3 separate regions of the Homo sapiens genome follow, and all the other regions are linked to region 1. Evidence: promoter capture Hi-C in human tissues and cell types (Jung and others, 2019). All regions are on one chromosome and are shown on one strand. The core of a region is centred on a gene start or on the middle of the fragment in contact, and the rest is flanking DNA. Distances in the headings are between cores, read along the strand shown.

The links. Contacts are between HindIII fragments. The study calls those that stand out against the background at their distance.
Region 2: a fragment that was not itself captured here is called in contact with the fragment with the promoter of MFSD8 in region 1 in 2 of the 25 tissues and cell types used here (H1 embryonic stem cells and spleen).
Region 3: a fragment that was not itself captured here is called in contact with the fragment with the promoter of MFSD8 in region 1 in 2 of the 25 tissues and cell types used here (IMR-90 fibroblasts and aorta).

Annotation. Positions count from the first base shown.
Region 1 is chr4:127,962,993-127,967,494 of GRCh38, reverse strand. MFSD8 (major facilitator superfamily domain containing 8) reads left to right here and starts at 2,322. Exons shown (of 12, transcript NM_001371596.2): 1 at 2,322-2,423. The coding sequence starts at 2,362. It overlaps ABHD18 (abhydrolase domain containing 18), which reads right to left and starts at 2,089. Exons shown (of 13, transcript NM_001358451.3): 1 at 1,889-2,089. RefSeq lists enhancers at 210-709, 710-1,211, 1,890-2,505, 2,096-2,515 and silencers at 1,606-1,835, 2,956-3,005, 3,016-3,145, 3,256-3,365. The HindIII fragment of the contact is 8,084 bases long and covers 1-4,502 here.
Region 2 is chr4:128,139,384-128,143,716 of GRCh38, reverse strand. All of the region lies in intron 11 of LARP1B (La ribonucleoprotein 1B), which reads right to left. Among named protein-coding and RNA genes, the nearest start is that of LARP1B, 80 kb to the right of the region's middle. The HindIII fragment of the contact is 6,686 bases long and covers 1-4,333 here.
Region 3 is chr4:128,161,302-128,165,359 of GRCh38, reverse strand. LARP1B (La ribonucleoprotein 1B) reads right to left here. Exons shown (of 20, transcript NM_018078.4): 12 at 3,043-3,166. Among named protein-coding and RNA genes, the nearest start is that of LARP1B, 100 kb to the right of the region's middle. The HindIII fragment of the contact is 4,054 bases long and covers 269-4,058 here.

The DNA of each region.
Region 1 (4,502 bases), core at 1,073-3,572:
TTATTTCACTTAGATAAAAACTGAATATCTACTATATATTTTTATGAGATATAAGGAAAGATTCTTCTTGCCGCTTTGCCATTTTTTCCCATAAGAAGCCTGGTGGTAAAGAGCACAGGCTTAGGATCAGGAGTCCTGCATTTCTTGAATTCTAGCTCTGTTGCTTGTTAGTAGTATGATCCTAGGCAAGTTACTTAATCTCCCTGCCTTCCATTTCCTTGTACACATGAGACAATTCCCCCCTCAGAGGATTGTTGTAAGGATGAGATGAAGTAATTCAATGAGCATTCATCCAACATATATTTATCTAGGAGCCATTCTGCTTACTGCTATACTGGTTAAAAATCCCCTTGTCCACTATATATGTGCCATACATTGCTAGCCCCCAGGAATTAAAAAAGACAATATAATAAAGCGACATTATGGCAAGAAAATACTAACTTTTCTACCTATGTGTCTTTTTGGAACCAATAATACAAATCTGACTTGTTTTTGTGAGCTGTTACAAATGAATCTGCAAGACTGAATCCAAGTACAAAATATCAGGTCTTGATTTAGAAGATATTTCTGAATAGCACGTTTCAAGGTTTTTGGTTTTTTTTTTTTTTTTGAGACAGAATCTCACTCTGTTGCCCAGGCTGGAGTGCAGTGGCGTGATCTCGGCTCACTGCAGCCTCCGCCTCCCGGGTTCAAGGGATTCTCCTGCCTCAGCCTCCCGAGTAGCTGGGACTATAGGCGCCCGCCACCACGCCCGGCTTTTTTTTTTTTTTTTTTTTTTTTTTTTTTTTTTTTGTATTTTTAGTAGAGACGGGGTTTCACCGTGTTAGCCAGGATGGTCTCGATCTCCTGACCTCGTGATCCGCCCGCCTTGGCCTCCCAAGGTGCTGGGATTACAGGCATGAACCATCGCACCCAGACCGCACGTTTCAAGTTTAGGTGTTCACCAGTGAACTGCGCCTGGCTGATACACACAAGGTCACAAATGACACAAAGATCAGAAGTGATGGCATATACCATACATGACTGTGTAACTAGTATAGGACCTAGCATAGGGTAAATGCTCATAAATATTAATTTAAAAAAATTAAGTTTGGTTTCCAACTTTGCCACTTCCACACAGAGTGACTCTGGGTTAACTTGTCTGGATCTTAATTTTCAGTAAACTAGCAATGTGTCTGCTTCGCCTATCTCATAGGATACTTGTGATCAAATGAAATTACATGACAATGTATCTGGCGCTAATAAAACGGTAATTTATGAGACACAGAATGACTACTGACGCCAGCTAGCCTACAAGCCTAATAGTAGAGATAAGATGTTAATACATAACCACCAAGAAATAAACATGGAGATCTAGTGAAAACCCATGACATGTTTTCTAAAAATGTCATCTTCCTTGTGACGAAAGGAGCTGGTCATTGCTAGGCAGGTGCTGTACCTTTTTCAACTCCCACGTTTCAGCAGCAGGCTCTGCTGAGTGACATTTTGCAAGGCTGAGGCCCCCGTAGGCGCAGGCGCCGTTGGGGTGCGCATCCGGGGACCTGCAGGTTACAAGCAGCAGATCCCACCTTCAGTCCTGGCTCTGACAAGCCCTCCAGGTAAGGCGCCTTTGCATTTAGCCGAGCTAGAGAAGAGAGCTGGAAGCCACCTCTACCTTTCACGGGGGGAAGGGACTGCCCGCGCGCTCGCCCCCATTATCTCAGCCCTCCGAAGCGCGCCACGGACTCCAGCCTTGTCTCTCACCCCCAGCCTCACCCCGCGTCCCTGACCCGCGAGTCTCCCGCCCAGCTCCGCGTCCCCGGTCCCTGCCTCCAGGCGCGTACACGGCGCGCTAAGAGGCGCGGGGAGCTCTTAGCGCACCTACTACTTAACCGGACCGGCTACTTACTGGCCGCCAGGTGGAAGCCTGCGATCGAGCTGGCCGGGCCTCCCAGCACCGCCGCTCTCCAGGCTCCCTTTCCAGGACTCAACTTTGGTCCCAGCCCCAATCGCAGCTCCGGTAACCTTTCCAGGAACCGAAATGCTAGATACAGCGGAAGGAGAAACGGAGGGAGGAAGACAAACCCGGAGCAGGGCGGCGCGGCAGTTTGGACACGCCCCGAGCTCTCCTGGGCTCTCAGTCCCCGTCAGGATGGGAGGCGCGTGCCGAGGGAGGAGGCTGAGGACACAGCCTCCTTTCGCCCTGCGCTGCCCGGCCTTCCGCGTGACCCCGCCTATGACCTCGGGGCGTTCCGCCTACGTCTGACCGTCAGGTGCGCACGCGCACTTACAGGCTTGTTTTGCCAGCTTCACGCCACCCGGGATGGGAGAAAGCAGGTGTCGCGAGAGTTGGGCGCAAGACGCCTTGTAGGGAGTGTAACTATGGCCGGCCTGCGGAACGAAAGTGAACAGGAGCCGCTCTTAGGCGACACACCTGGAAGCAGGTGAGCGGATCCTGGTGGAGGGACCCCTCAGTCTCCTGCGCTGTTGGGACTGGTTCCTTTCCGGGCGTCACCCGCACTGGGACAAACCCTCGCTGCCAGAGGGGTTCCAGCGCGGTGGGAGCCGGTGGCTGGGTTGTGTGAGCCGAGGAGATTCGCTCCCAACGTAGGAGAAAGGGCGTCTGGCCGCACCGTGCGGTGATGAGCCCGTGGGTTCGAGTGACGGGGCTGGAGAAACCCAGGCTGCTGCTTTGCCTGTTGCAGCACCCAAGCTGAGAGGTGACAGCGTGCTGGCAGTCCTCACAGCCCTTGCTCGCTCTCCAGGCCTCCTCTGCCTGGGCTCCCACTTTGGCGGCACTTGAGGAGCCCTTCAGCCCACCGCTGCACTGTGGGAGCCCCTTTCTGGGCTGGCCAAGGTGGGAGCCGGCTCCCTCAGCTTGCAGGGAGGTGTGGTGGGAGAGGCGTGAGCGGGAACCGGGGCTGCGCGCCGCGCTTGCGGGCCAGCTGGAGTTCCGAGTGGGCGTGGGCTTGGCGGGCCCCGCACTGGGAGCAGCAGGCCGGCCCTGCCGGCCCCGGGCAATGAGGGGCTTAGCACCCGGGCCAGCGGCTGCGGAGGGTGTGCTGGGTCCCCCAGCAGTGCCAGCCCACTGGCGCTGCGCTCGATTTCTCGCCGGGCCTTAGCTGCCTTCCCGCGGGGCAGGGCTCGGGACCTGCAGCCCGCCATGCCTGAGCCTCCCACCCACTCCGTGGGCTCCTGTGCGGCCCGAGCCTCCCCGATGAGCGCCGCTCCCTACTCCACGGTGCCTAGTCCCATCGACCACCCAAGGGCTGAGGAGTGCGGGTGCACGGCGCGGGACTGGCAGGCAGCTCCACCTGCAGCCCCGGTGCGGGATCCACTGGGCGAAGCCAGCTGGGCTCCTGAGTCTGGTGGAGACGTGGAGAACGTTTATGTCTAGCTCAGGGATTGTAACTACACCAATCGGCACTCTGTATCTAGCTCAAGGTTTGTAAACACACCAATCAGCACCCTGTGTCTAGCTCAGGGTTTGTGAATGCACCAGTCGACACTCTGTATCTAGCTACTCTGGTGGGGCCTTGGAGAACCTTTCTGTCAACACTCTGTATCTAGTTAATCTAGTGGGGACGTGGAGAACCTTTGTGTCTAGCTCAGGGATTGTAAACGCACCAATCAGCGCCCTGTCAAAACAGACTACTCGGCTCTACCAATCAGCAGGATGTGGGTGGGGCCAGATAAGAGAATAAAAGCAGGCTGCCCACCAGTAGTGGCAACCCGCTGAGGTCCCTTTCCACAGTGTGGAAGCTTTGTTTTTTCGCTCTTTGCGATAAATCTTGCTACTGCTCACTCTTTGGGACCATACGGCTTTTATGAGCCGTAACACTCACCGCGAAGGTCTGCAGTTTCACTCCTGAAGCCAGCGAGACCACGGGGAGGAACGAACAACTCCAGACGCGCCGCCTTAAGAGTTGTAACACTCACCACGAAGGTCTGCAGCTTCGCTCTTGAGCCAGCGAGACCACGAACCCACCAGAAGGAAGAAACTCTGAACACATCTGAGCATCAGAAGGAACAAACTCCAGACGTGCCACCTTAAGAGCTGTTAACACTCACCGCGAGGGTCCGCAGCTTCATTCTTGAAGTCAGTGAGACCAAGAACCCACCAATCCCGGACACAAAGCCACCACATTCTGTATCTTCTGCATTCCATATTTGGCCCTTTGTAGCTGATCACTTTCCAGATTTCACAGTTTCAAAATGATGGTTTTAATAGATACTTGAAGGTATCGGTCTTAGTAATGACCTGCTGCCTAATTGCCTGACAACCTCTTGATAGTTTAACAAATCTGTCCAAAATGAGCTCGCCTTTGTCCTATGCCAAATGTACAAAGAAAGACTAATTTTAAGGCATTAAAGGAATAACGTCAGTATTTTGATCCTTATAATTCTGGTTGTTCTGATCCTAGTTTATGGGCAGTGACTCGGGAATGTATACCTAATGTATTTTTACCTTTAGGAAAACGGAATTACTATTTTATTTGAAATATACATAATAATTACCTCAG
Region 2 (4,333 bases), core at 1,766-4,265, 180 kb before region 1:
ACTCATACATTTGAATGTATCATACTCATATTTCTGCTTATTAATTCATTCACACTCTCCCCCACCACTGTTCCACTGAGATATCTCAGCACATTTCTTCTCTCTTGTTTATCAAGAGGCTCAAAACTGAATTCAGTGGTCAATTATGATAGTTCTCTTCTGCCTAGATTTTCCAGTTTAATTAGCTCCACCCACCCCACCATTTTGAATTATTTAGAGATTGTATTTTCAATTGTCAGTCATGTTCACTACCAAATTCCCAGCTTCCAACATTGTTTGGTACACAGCAGACACTCAAATATATGTTAATGAATGAATCCCTGGCAGAGTCAATTTATTATAAGGCTGCCATATTTGAAATATAGTACTAACTTGTGCAAGGGATTATGGCTAGAATTTACATAATGAGGCAAAACTTGAAATCAGGTCTCTTTTTTTTGAAACGGAGTCTTGCTCTGTCACGGAGTGCAGTGGCATGATCTTGGCTCACTGCAACCTCCACCTCCCGGGTTCAAGTGATTCTCCTGCCTCAGCCTCCCGAATAGCTGAGACTACAGCTGTGTGCCACCACACCCAGCTAATTTTTACATTTTTAGTAGGGATGGGGTTTCACCATGTTGGCCAGGATGGTCTCAATCTCTTGACCTCATGATCAGCCTGCCTCGGCCTCCCAAAGTGCTGGGATTACAGGCGTGAGCCACCGTGCCTGGCCTCTAAAATCAGGTCTCTTGATTCACTTGACTCTCCAGCAGAAAGAACTTTAGTTCAAAACCATTTCTAAAGAGAGAGTGACTACAGTTAACTTGAGAGCTCACGTTGTCCATGAAAGGAAAGCGATCTGAGAAGTCTTTCAGAGTAAGGTGTTAGGAAGAGTGTAAAAGAATTTTGTATTTTGAAATATACAACATAACCCAGGCACAGTGGCTCACGCCTGTAATCCCAGGACTTTGGTAGGCCAAGGCGGGCAGATCACCTGAGGTTGGGAGTTCGAGACCAGTTTGAGAAACATGGAGAAACCCCGTCTCTACTAAAAATACAAAATTAGCCAGGTGTGGTGGCGCATGCCTGTAATCCCAGATACTCGGGGGGCTGAGGCAGAAGAATAGCTTGAACCCGGGAGGCAGAGGCTGCAGTGAGCAGAGATCGCGCCATTGAACTCCAGCCTGGGCAACAAGAGCGAAACTCCATCTCAAAAAAAAAAAAAAAGAAAGAAATATACAACATAAGAGGACTAATAATGGAACTGTGGCACCTGGAAGAACTCCACAGACTGTACTTTGATGGCACAGTTTCTATGTAAAGGCTGCCTAAGCTTCTACATTCCTTAAATTCCTGGTCTTTCCTCCATTTGTAGCATTGTTTCTGGTCCCACATAACCATCTGGTCTTTGTTCTTTCTTCATATATGCCCAGTTTTTTACAGTTTTCAAATTCTTTACAACCTCATGAGGTGGACAGGGTAAGAATGATCCCCACCTGAGATTCACAGAAGTTAGGTGTTGGTCCAGAACTGCACTCCCAGTGGAACTTGCACATAGTTGACTGCTGGTCAAGAACAGGCTTTGCCAGACAGGTTCTCAACTTGGTGCACTTCTCTAATGAGAAAAGGTCAGCTCAAGTGGTGGTGAGGAGACAGGAAGTTTACATGACTCTCCTCTTGACAAGTCAGTATGAAGCTATTGTTTCTGTCTGCCAGCCATCTCCTGATAAATGTGTACAGCATGTCCACCTTTATACCAAATACTCTGCCACAACTGAAGTTCCTTTCACTATCTGAAATAAATACAGGTAAGGACTTGCCTCATTTGTAAGGGGGAATGCTGCATAAGAGAGTGAAGTAATCAGCAAAGTCAAAGTGAATGAGAGCTATCCAGTCTTCCAAGGCTCAAGGACCCCAATAATTCCAGAATGCTGTCTGGGTCAAGGCAGAAGAAAGCCACTAGAGGTACGCTTTCTTGTTGAGAGTGTAACCTCTCAACAACGTGCTTGCTGATGGTCTCAATCATCTAACAACTGGAAATGTTCTCTCAAATACCACAAAGCTAAGTACCTCCAAGAAAAATTCTGGGAACTGATGTTTAGGCCACCAGTGAGGAGTGTTAAGTTCACCTGATAATACTATAAGTAGTACTGGACAAAACTGGTATATTTCACTACTGTAAATGCAATGAGCCTAACGATGAGATTAAGTGACTAGCAGATGTGATTCATAAGTTTCAAATTTGAAGGTTCTTCCTAAAATGTTGGAGATAAACACATTAGCATATTTGAGTTTCTACACAAGCAACTTGGGCAGAGGATAGAATACTGAGCAACTCGTTGTAACGTGTTTCTCTCTTATTCTGTAGATACAAATTAAACATTTATAGTTAGGGGAAGGTATCATGAGATAGTGGACCAGGAAATTCCTGAGCTCATGAGCCCAGACGCTAGCCAATGATACCAATGATAAGATGTAAAGGCCTATCAGCACATTTTTGGAATGGACGTCTGATCTCTACATCCTATGTTAACAAAGTCTTCAATACTGTACAGATTTATACCACTCAAGCAGACCACTGGAAAGGAAGACAAATAGCTGGACGCAAAAAAGCAGAGACAATTGGCCAGGTGCGGTGGCTCATGCCTGTAATCCCAGCACTTTGGGAGGCCGAGGCAGGTGGATCACGAGGTCAGGAGTTCAAGACCAGCCTGGCCAAGATGATGAAACTCCATCTCTACTAAAAATACAAAAATTAGCCAGGCATGGTGGTGCATGCCTGTAATCCCAGCTACTTGGGAGGCTGAGGCAGCAGAATCGCTTGAACCCGGGAGGCGGAGGTTGCAGTGAGCCGAGATCACGCCACTGCACTCTAGCCTGGGCGACAGAGCAAGACTCTGCCAAAAAAAAAAACAGAGACAATTAACCTACCTTGACTTTAGACCAAGGAACAACAATGTGGCAGCTTCAAGAAGTAAATAAATCAGCTTTGGCTTGCCTCTTTTGTACTACCCATCCCCCTTTAATTCTAGCCTTTTAGTATTGTTATGAAATATGTCTCCTAGAATAATGCATAAAATATACATGTGCAACTTATAACGCATTCATGTAACAACTACCAGAAACACAACTGTTAGTATTTTAGAAACTTCTGAGGATCCTACACCTCCCCCCAGCCCCCACAATGAACAAATTCTGACTTACGTAGTAATTATTCCAGGTTTTTCTTTATGCAACCATCTATATACGTTAAGTGTACCTAAAAAATCATGTTTCATTTGATCTGTTCTTGAGTTTTGTGGAGTCATATTGTGTATGAACCCTCACTTCTTTCATTCAGCATTGTTTTCTAGATGTATTCATAAAGATGTGTATGGCAATCATTTTTTTCTCTACTATATAGCTACTTTTCACTACTATAATGATGACATAGTCAGCTACTGATAGATACTTCAAATATTTTCAATTTGTGACTATAATGAATTATTCTGCTACATTATTACATACTGCTCCTGGTGAACACATCTAAATTCCTCCAGGGTAGTGCCAGCCAATACAAACACAATGTAATCTTAAATTTCCCATAACTACAAAAAATATACAAGATGTACATTTTAAATAATCTATTTCGACATGCAATAATTATTAAAATTTGAGATATTTTATATTCCTTTTTGTTACTAAGTCTTCAAAATCCAGTATTTTACATTTAAAACACATCCTATTTGGACTAGCCACATTTCAAGGGCTCAATAACTACATGTGGTTAATGTCTACTAAACAATGCAACTCGAGAATATATTCCTGAGTGGAAATGGTGGATCATAGCATATGGTTTACCATTTTTTATTCCCACAGATTGAGGTTCTTGCTCCAAATACTCCCAAACTCTACTTACCATCTGATGTCTTAACATTGCTAATATAAGTTTTATGAACTATTTCATTGAAATATTTTCATCTCCTTGACTAATAATGTTGAACATCTTTTCATGTTCTCAGTCATTTAGACTTCTTCTTTTGTAAAAAGTTTGTTCATGTCTTATAAGCAGTATACTGAATCTTTTGTGTGTGTGTGTGTGTGACAGTCTCACTCTGTCGCCCAGGCTGGAGTGCAATGGCACGATCTTATACTGTTTTTTTGTTTTTTTTTTTAACAGTTATACAGTTACAAGCATTTAGTAAATCTACTTTATGGATTCTTTTCTTCTATTTTAAGAGATGGGCCTCACTATATTGCCCAGGCTGGAGTGCAGTGGCCATTCACAGGTGCACACTACATCGCAGCTGTGATCATCACACACTACAGCACTGAATTTTTGGGCTCAAGGGATCCTCCTGCCTTAGCCTCTAGA
Region 3 (4,058 bases), core at 1,046-3,545, 200 kb before region 1:
AATTTTTGCTTTATTTTTATATTTTTCTGTTCATATATTTAAAAACTAGACATTATAGCACACAAATAAAAATTAATAAATTTATATATAAATTTTAAAATAGAGCTGATACACACTCATACCGACCAACTAGACCAATACATACATAAATTCCAGATGCTAGCAAACACATGTGCAGACCTTCCAGATGGGATTTCCCCCACCCTCAGGAGTAAATTAATATATTAATTTTTTATATTAATAATTCCCCTTGCTTCTCTTCATGGCTCCTATGTGCTATGCATCTATCCATGAATTTTATACTTTATGTAATAGCATTACACTGAATGAACTTCTTTGTTCTAGCTTATTTTATACATCCCTTTTTTATTTTTTTATTTTTTCCTATATTTTTAGATTAACACATTTTGTCACATGTAACATTAGTTCTTTCATTTTCCACTGCTGCCTATTTTTCCTACGTATGACTACACCACATCTTATAATACATTCTACTATAACTGGGCATTTTTTAGTTTTCATTTGCTTTTTTCTATTATGAACAATGATACTACAAATGTTCTCTTGGTAAACATTTGCAACAGTATGCCCAGGCTGGTCTCAAACTCCTGGGCTCAAGTGATCCTCCTGCCTTGGCCTCCCGAAGTGTTGGGATTATAGGCATGAGCCACAATGGCCTGCAACAGTATCTCTTGAAATGAAACTGCTGGGTTATAATATGGCGTATTGCTATGGTTTTAATTGGAAAACCTCAGTAAAAATAGCCTCTTTTCATATTTATTGGCCATTTGGTCTTCCCAAATATGAAACTGATGTTCATGTTTCATTTACTACTTTTTCTATTCATGTTTGCCATTTTTCATATTAATTTTTAAGGTTTTAGATTTCTATGATATTAATTCTTTGTTAATGTCATGCAATGCCAAATTTATCTCCTTATTTGTGACTTGTATGCTTTCTATGATGTGCAAAGGAATATACATTCTCAATTTTAAAGTATTCAAATTTAACAAGGCAAAAAATCCAGCAATTTAACTGAACAGCCCTAGTGGGACACACTAAGAACTTTAAAGAAAGCTTTAAAGTATGAAGTTTTTAAAAGTTTACAGTTTAAAGAACTCTAAAAGAAGTTACCTTTCAGTATTTATAATATTATTATTTAATGTTATTGTTATTCTGGAACTATTATATCATAGGATTAGCAAATAAATAATTATGTTACTGTGGTTAGGAAGAAAGATTTTTTATATATAAGTAAAAAGCAATACAACTACAAAATCAAAGAAATTAAAATTAAAACCTATAATCTTAAATTTAGACAGAAAATATCAACATGAATACGTAATATATTTTTCTCCTTAAAAAATTTCCTAGCTCTTTCTATTCAAAAGGCCTAGAAACAAGGACCAACTGAGTAGCAGATCCGGTACTGACAAAGCTCAACCTTGGTGGGGGCTCAACCTTCTGTGGGGTGGGAAACATTAAAGTTAACAGTCCAACTCCATTATTACTGAGCAAGAAAATGAAAGGTGGCTTTAGAGCTAAAAGTCAATAAACTGATAACTGGCATAGGTATCAATAATAATAATAATAACTGTAATAGAATGAAACCCATCTCATGTATTTATGAGTTCACAATGATCATTTAAAAACAAACAAACAAAAACTTCATTAGTCACCAGCGAAGAATGTTAAGGAACCAGCTAGTACTTTGAAACTAGTAAACAAAGGGAAATAATTCAGCACTGACTCACTTTCCTGTAAGAACTCTATCTCAGAATAAATAAATATTCTGGGGAAAGTTCTCTTTATAAAAGTATTCTACCTATTAAGGTAAGACGTAATGATTAAAAATAGAATCATCACTATTTTGCAACCCCTAGTAAAATAAAAGCTTCACTCACTGATCATCAATGACTGCTAACATTACAAAAAGAGACAATAGAGCATTATGTATCTCCTAATAGTATTCAATACTACATATGACATATTCTTACAGAGATTTGAGTCTTAATCTAATCAAGTCTCTATGCTGAACTAACAGTTATAGATAATTCAGGACTAGAAAACAGGTTAAATGAAACCATGGGGATGCAATCAGCAAAATTCAGAATGTGAAAAATTCTACAAGACAAACAACCCAGTTTCTTCAATACCAAATTGCAAGGACCAATAAATTATAAGGCAAAAAATAGTAGAAACCTGTAGACTAAAAAAGACATATCAATCTATTGCAATCTATTTGAAGAAACTGGAAAAAAAAAGTGATGAATGAGGAAATTTGAACACTAGATATCTAACGTTAAGGAATTACTGTTAATTTTAGATATGATAATGTCCTGCTATTTATGTGTTAAAAGATATAGCCCTTATCTTTTTAAAGACACATACAGAAATCTTTAAGGACAAAAAAATATGAATCATGTGATTGAGAATTTGTTTAAAAATAATCCACAGGGAGGTATAGGAGTTACTGGAGTCGAGACAAAATTGGGTATGAGATGATTAAGTATAGCAGGTACATGGGAGTTTTATTATAAAATTCACTCTATCTTTGTATATGTGTGACTTTTTATAAATCATTTTTTTAACCACCTTCAGGAAAAGGCTATAATAAAATCAGTTATACTTGTCTGAAATGTCAGATTCAATTTATGGATCTCCCAATGTATTTATTTACACTCTCACACAGAGCTAAGCCCTTAAAACAAAAGAATGACTCTAGCGCATTCTAAGGATCAGTGAGTCAGTGAAAAATTTTATTTTGGGAAGAGAAACATTCCCAGCAATCTTAAAATCACATCAGATACATAAAGAACCAACAAATTCTGCCTACTTCTAAGTAAGCCTCTGGCTTTGAGCATAATCTGGTGTGATAATAGAAGTTCACAAAAGGATAAAAGTTGAGTTTTAAAATTCTAGCATTTTACCATTTACCTAATGATTTTCCACAAATAAAGAAAAAAAAGGAGCAATTTTTAAAAACAATTCAGAACTGCTTTAATACTATTCAGACACTTACACAAAAGCAGATTTACATACCTTGCCTGGACTGTGAAGGTGCTACAGGAACTTCTTGGTTTGGCTCAAAAGGAAGTTCAGGTGTTAGGTTTTCAAACTGCTCTTTACTAATGAGATTTAGCTTCTTAAAGTTCTCAACTTCTTGCTGAAGTAGAATGGAGGAATCTAATTACTAAACTGGCTAACAGAGTAACCAACAGACAATAATTGATACCAACCTCAAAAAAATGAACTTCTAAAACAGGGATTAATTACAATGGAGTGAAAAAGACGTTCTAATAAAGAGTCTAGCATTATACTTAATAACAACATTCAGAATCTAAGAGGCATATAACACCCTAAAATATTATAATGATTTTATAATTAAAAAACATTATAAGACCACACATACTAATCATTAATTATTTGTTGAGCATTTACATACAAGACTACCAGGTATTACAGACGTTACAAAGTAATCTAATACATGTTCCCTACCATTAAGGAATTTATATGTTAGATGAAAAGGAAGAAATGAACACATAAAAATAAATAATATTAGGTAGTATGTGAAGAGCGATATTGGTGTAAGAATTACGATCATCAGGAAGCCATCACAGGAGAGATGGGACAAAAGCACCTCTTGAAGGATGAGAATTTAGAGAAAGGGAGAAACATTCTAAATAGGTAATGAGAGCAAAGATAAGAAGCTTGGAAAAAGCAATGTGTTTATTACAAAGTAATTAAGTGACTAAGAAAATCTGTGTAGAACCAGTGGCAAAGAGGACTGATGAGGAAGTTGGAGAAAGCTACTAGAAGACCTTTAATACTGGGTCAAGAAGATTTCACTTTGTTTTATAATAATGGGATGCATGTGATAAAGATAAATCTGGATGGCCCTGGATAGCTGCAGCAAAGAGACTCAGTATATTTGAGTTGTTAGCTCAAAGGAAGAATAGACCCCTCCCTGCCTCTGGGGTTCTGGAGGCTTCCCCTTTGTAACTACTATTGCATAGTCACTTAAGTGTTTCCGGCCCTGACCTACAAATGTGTGGAGC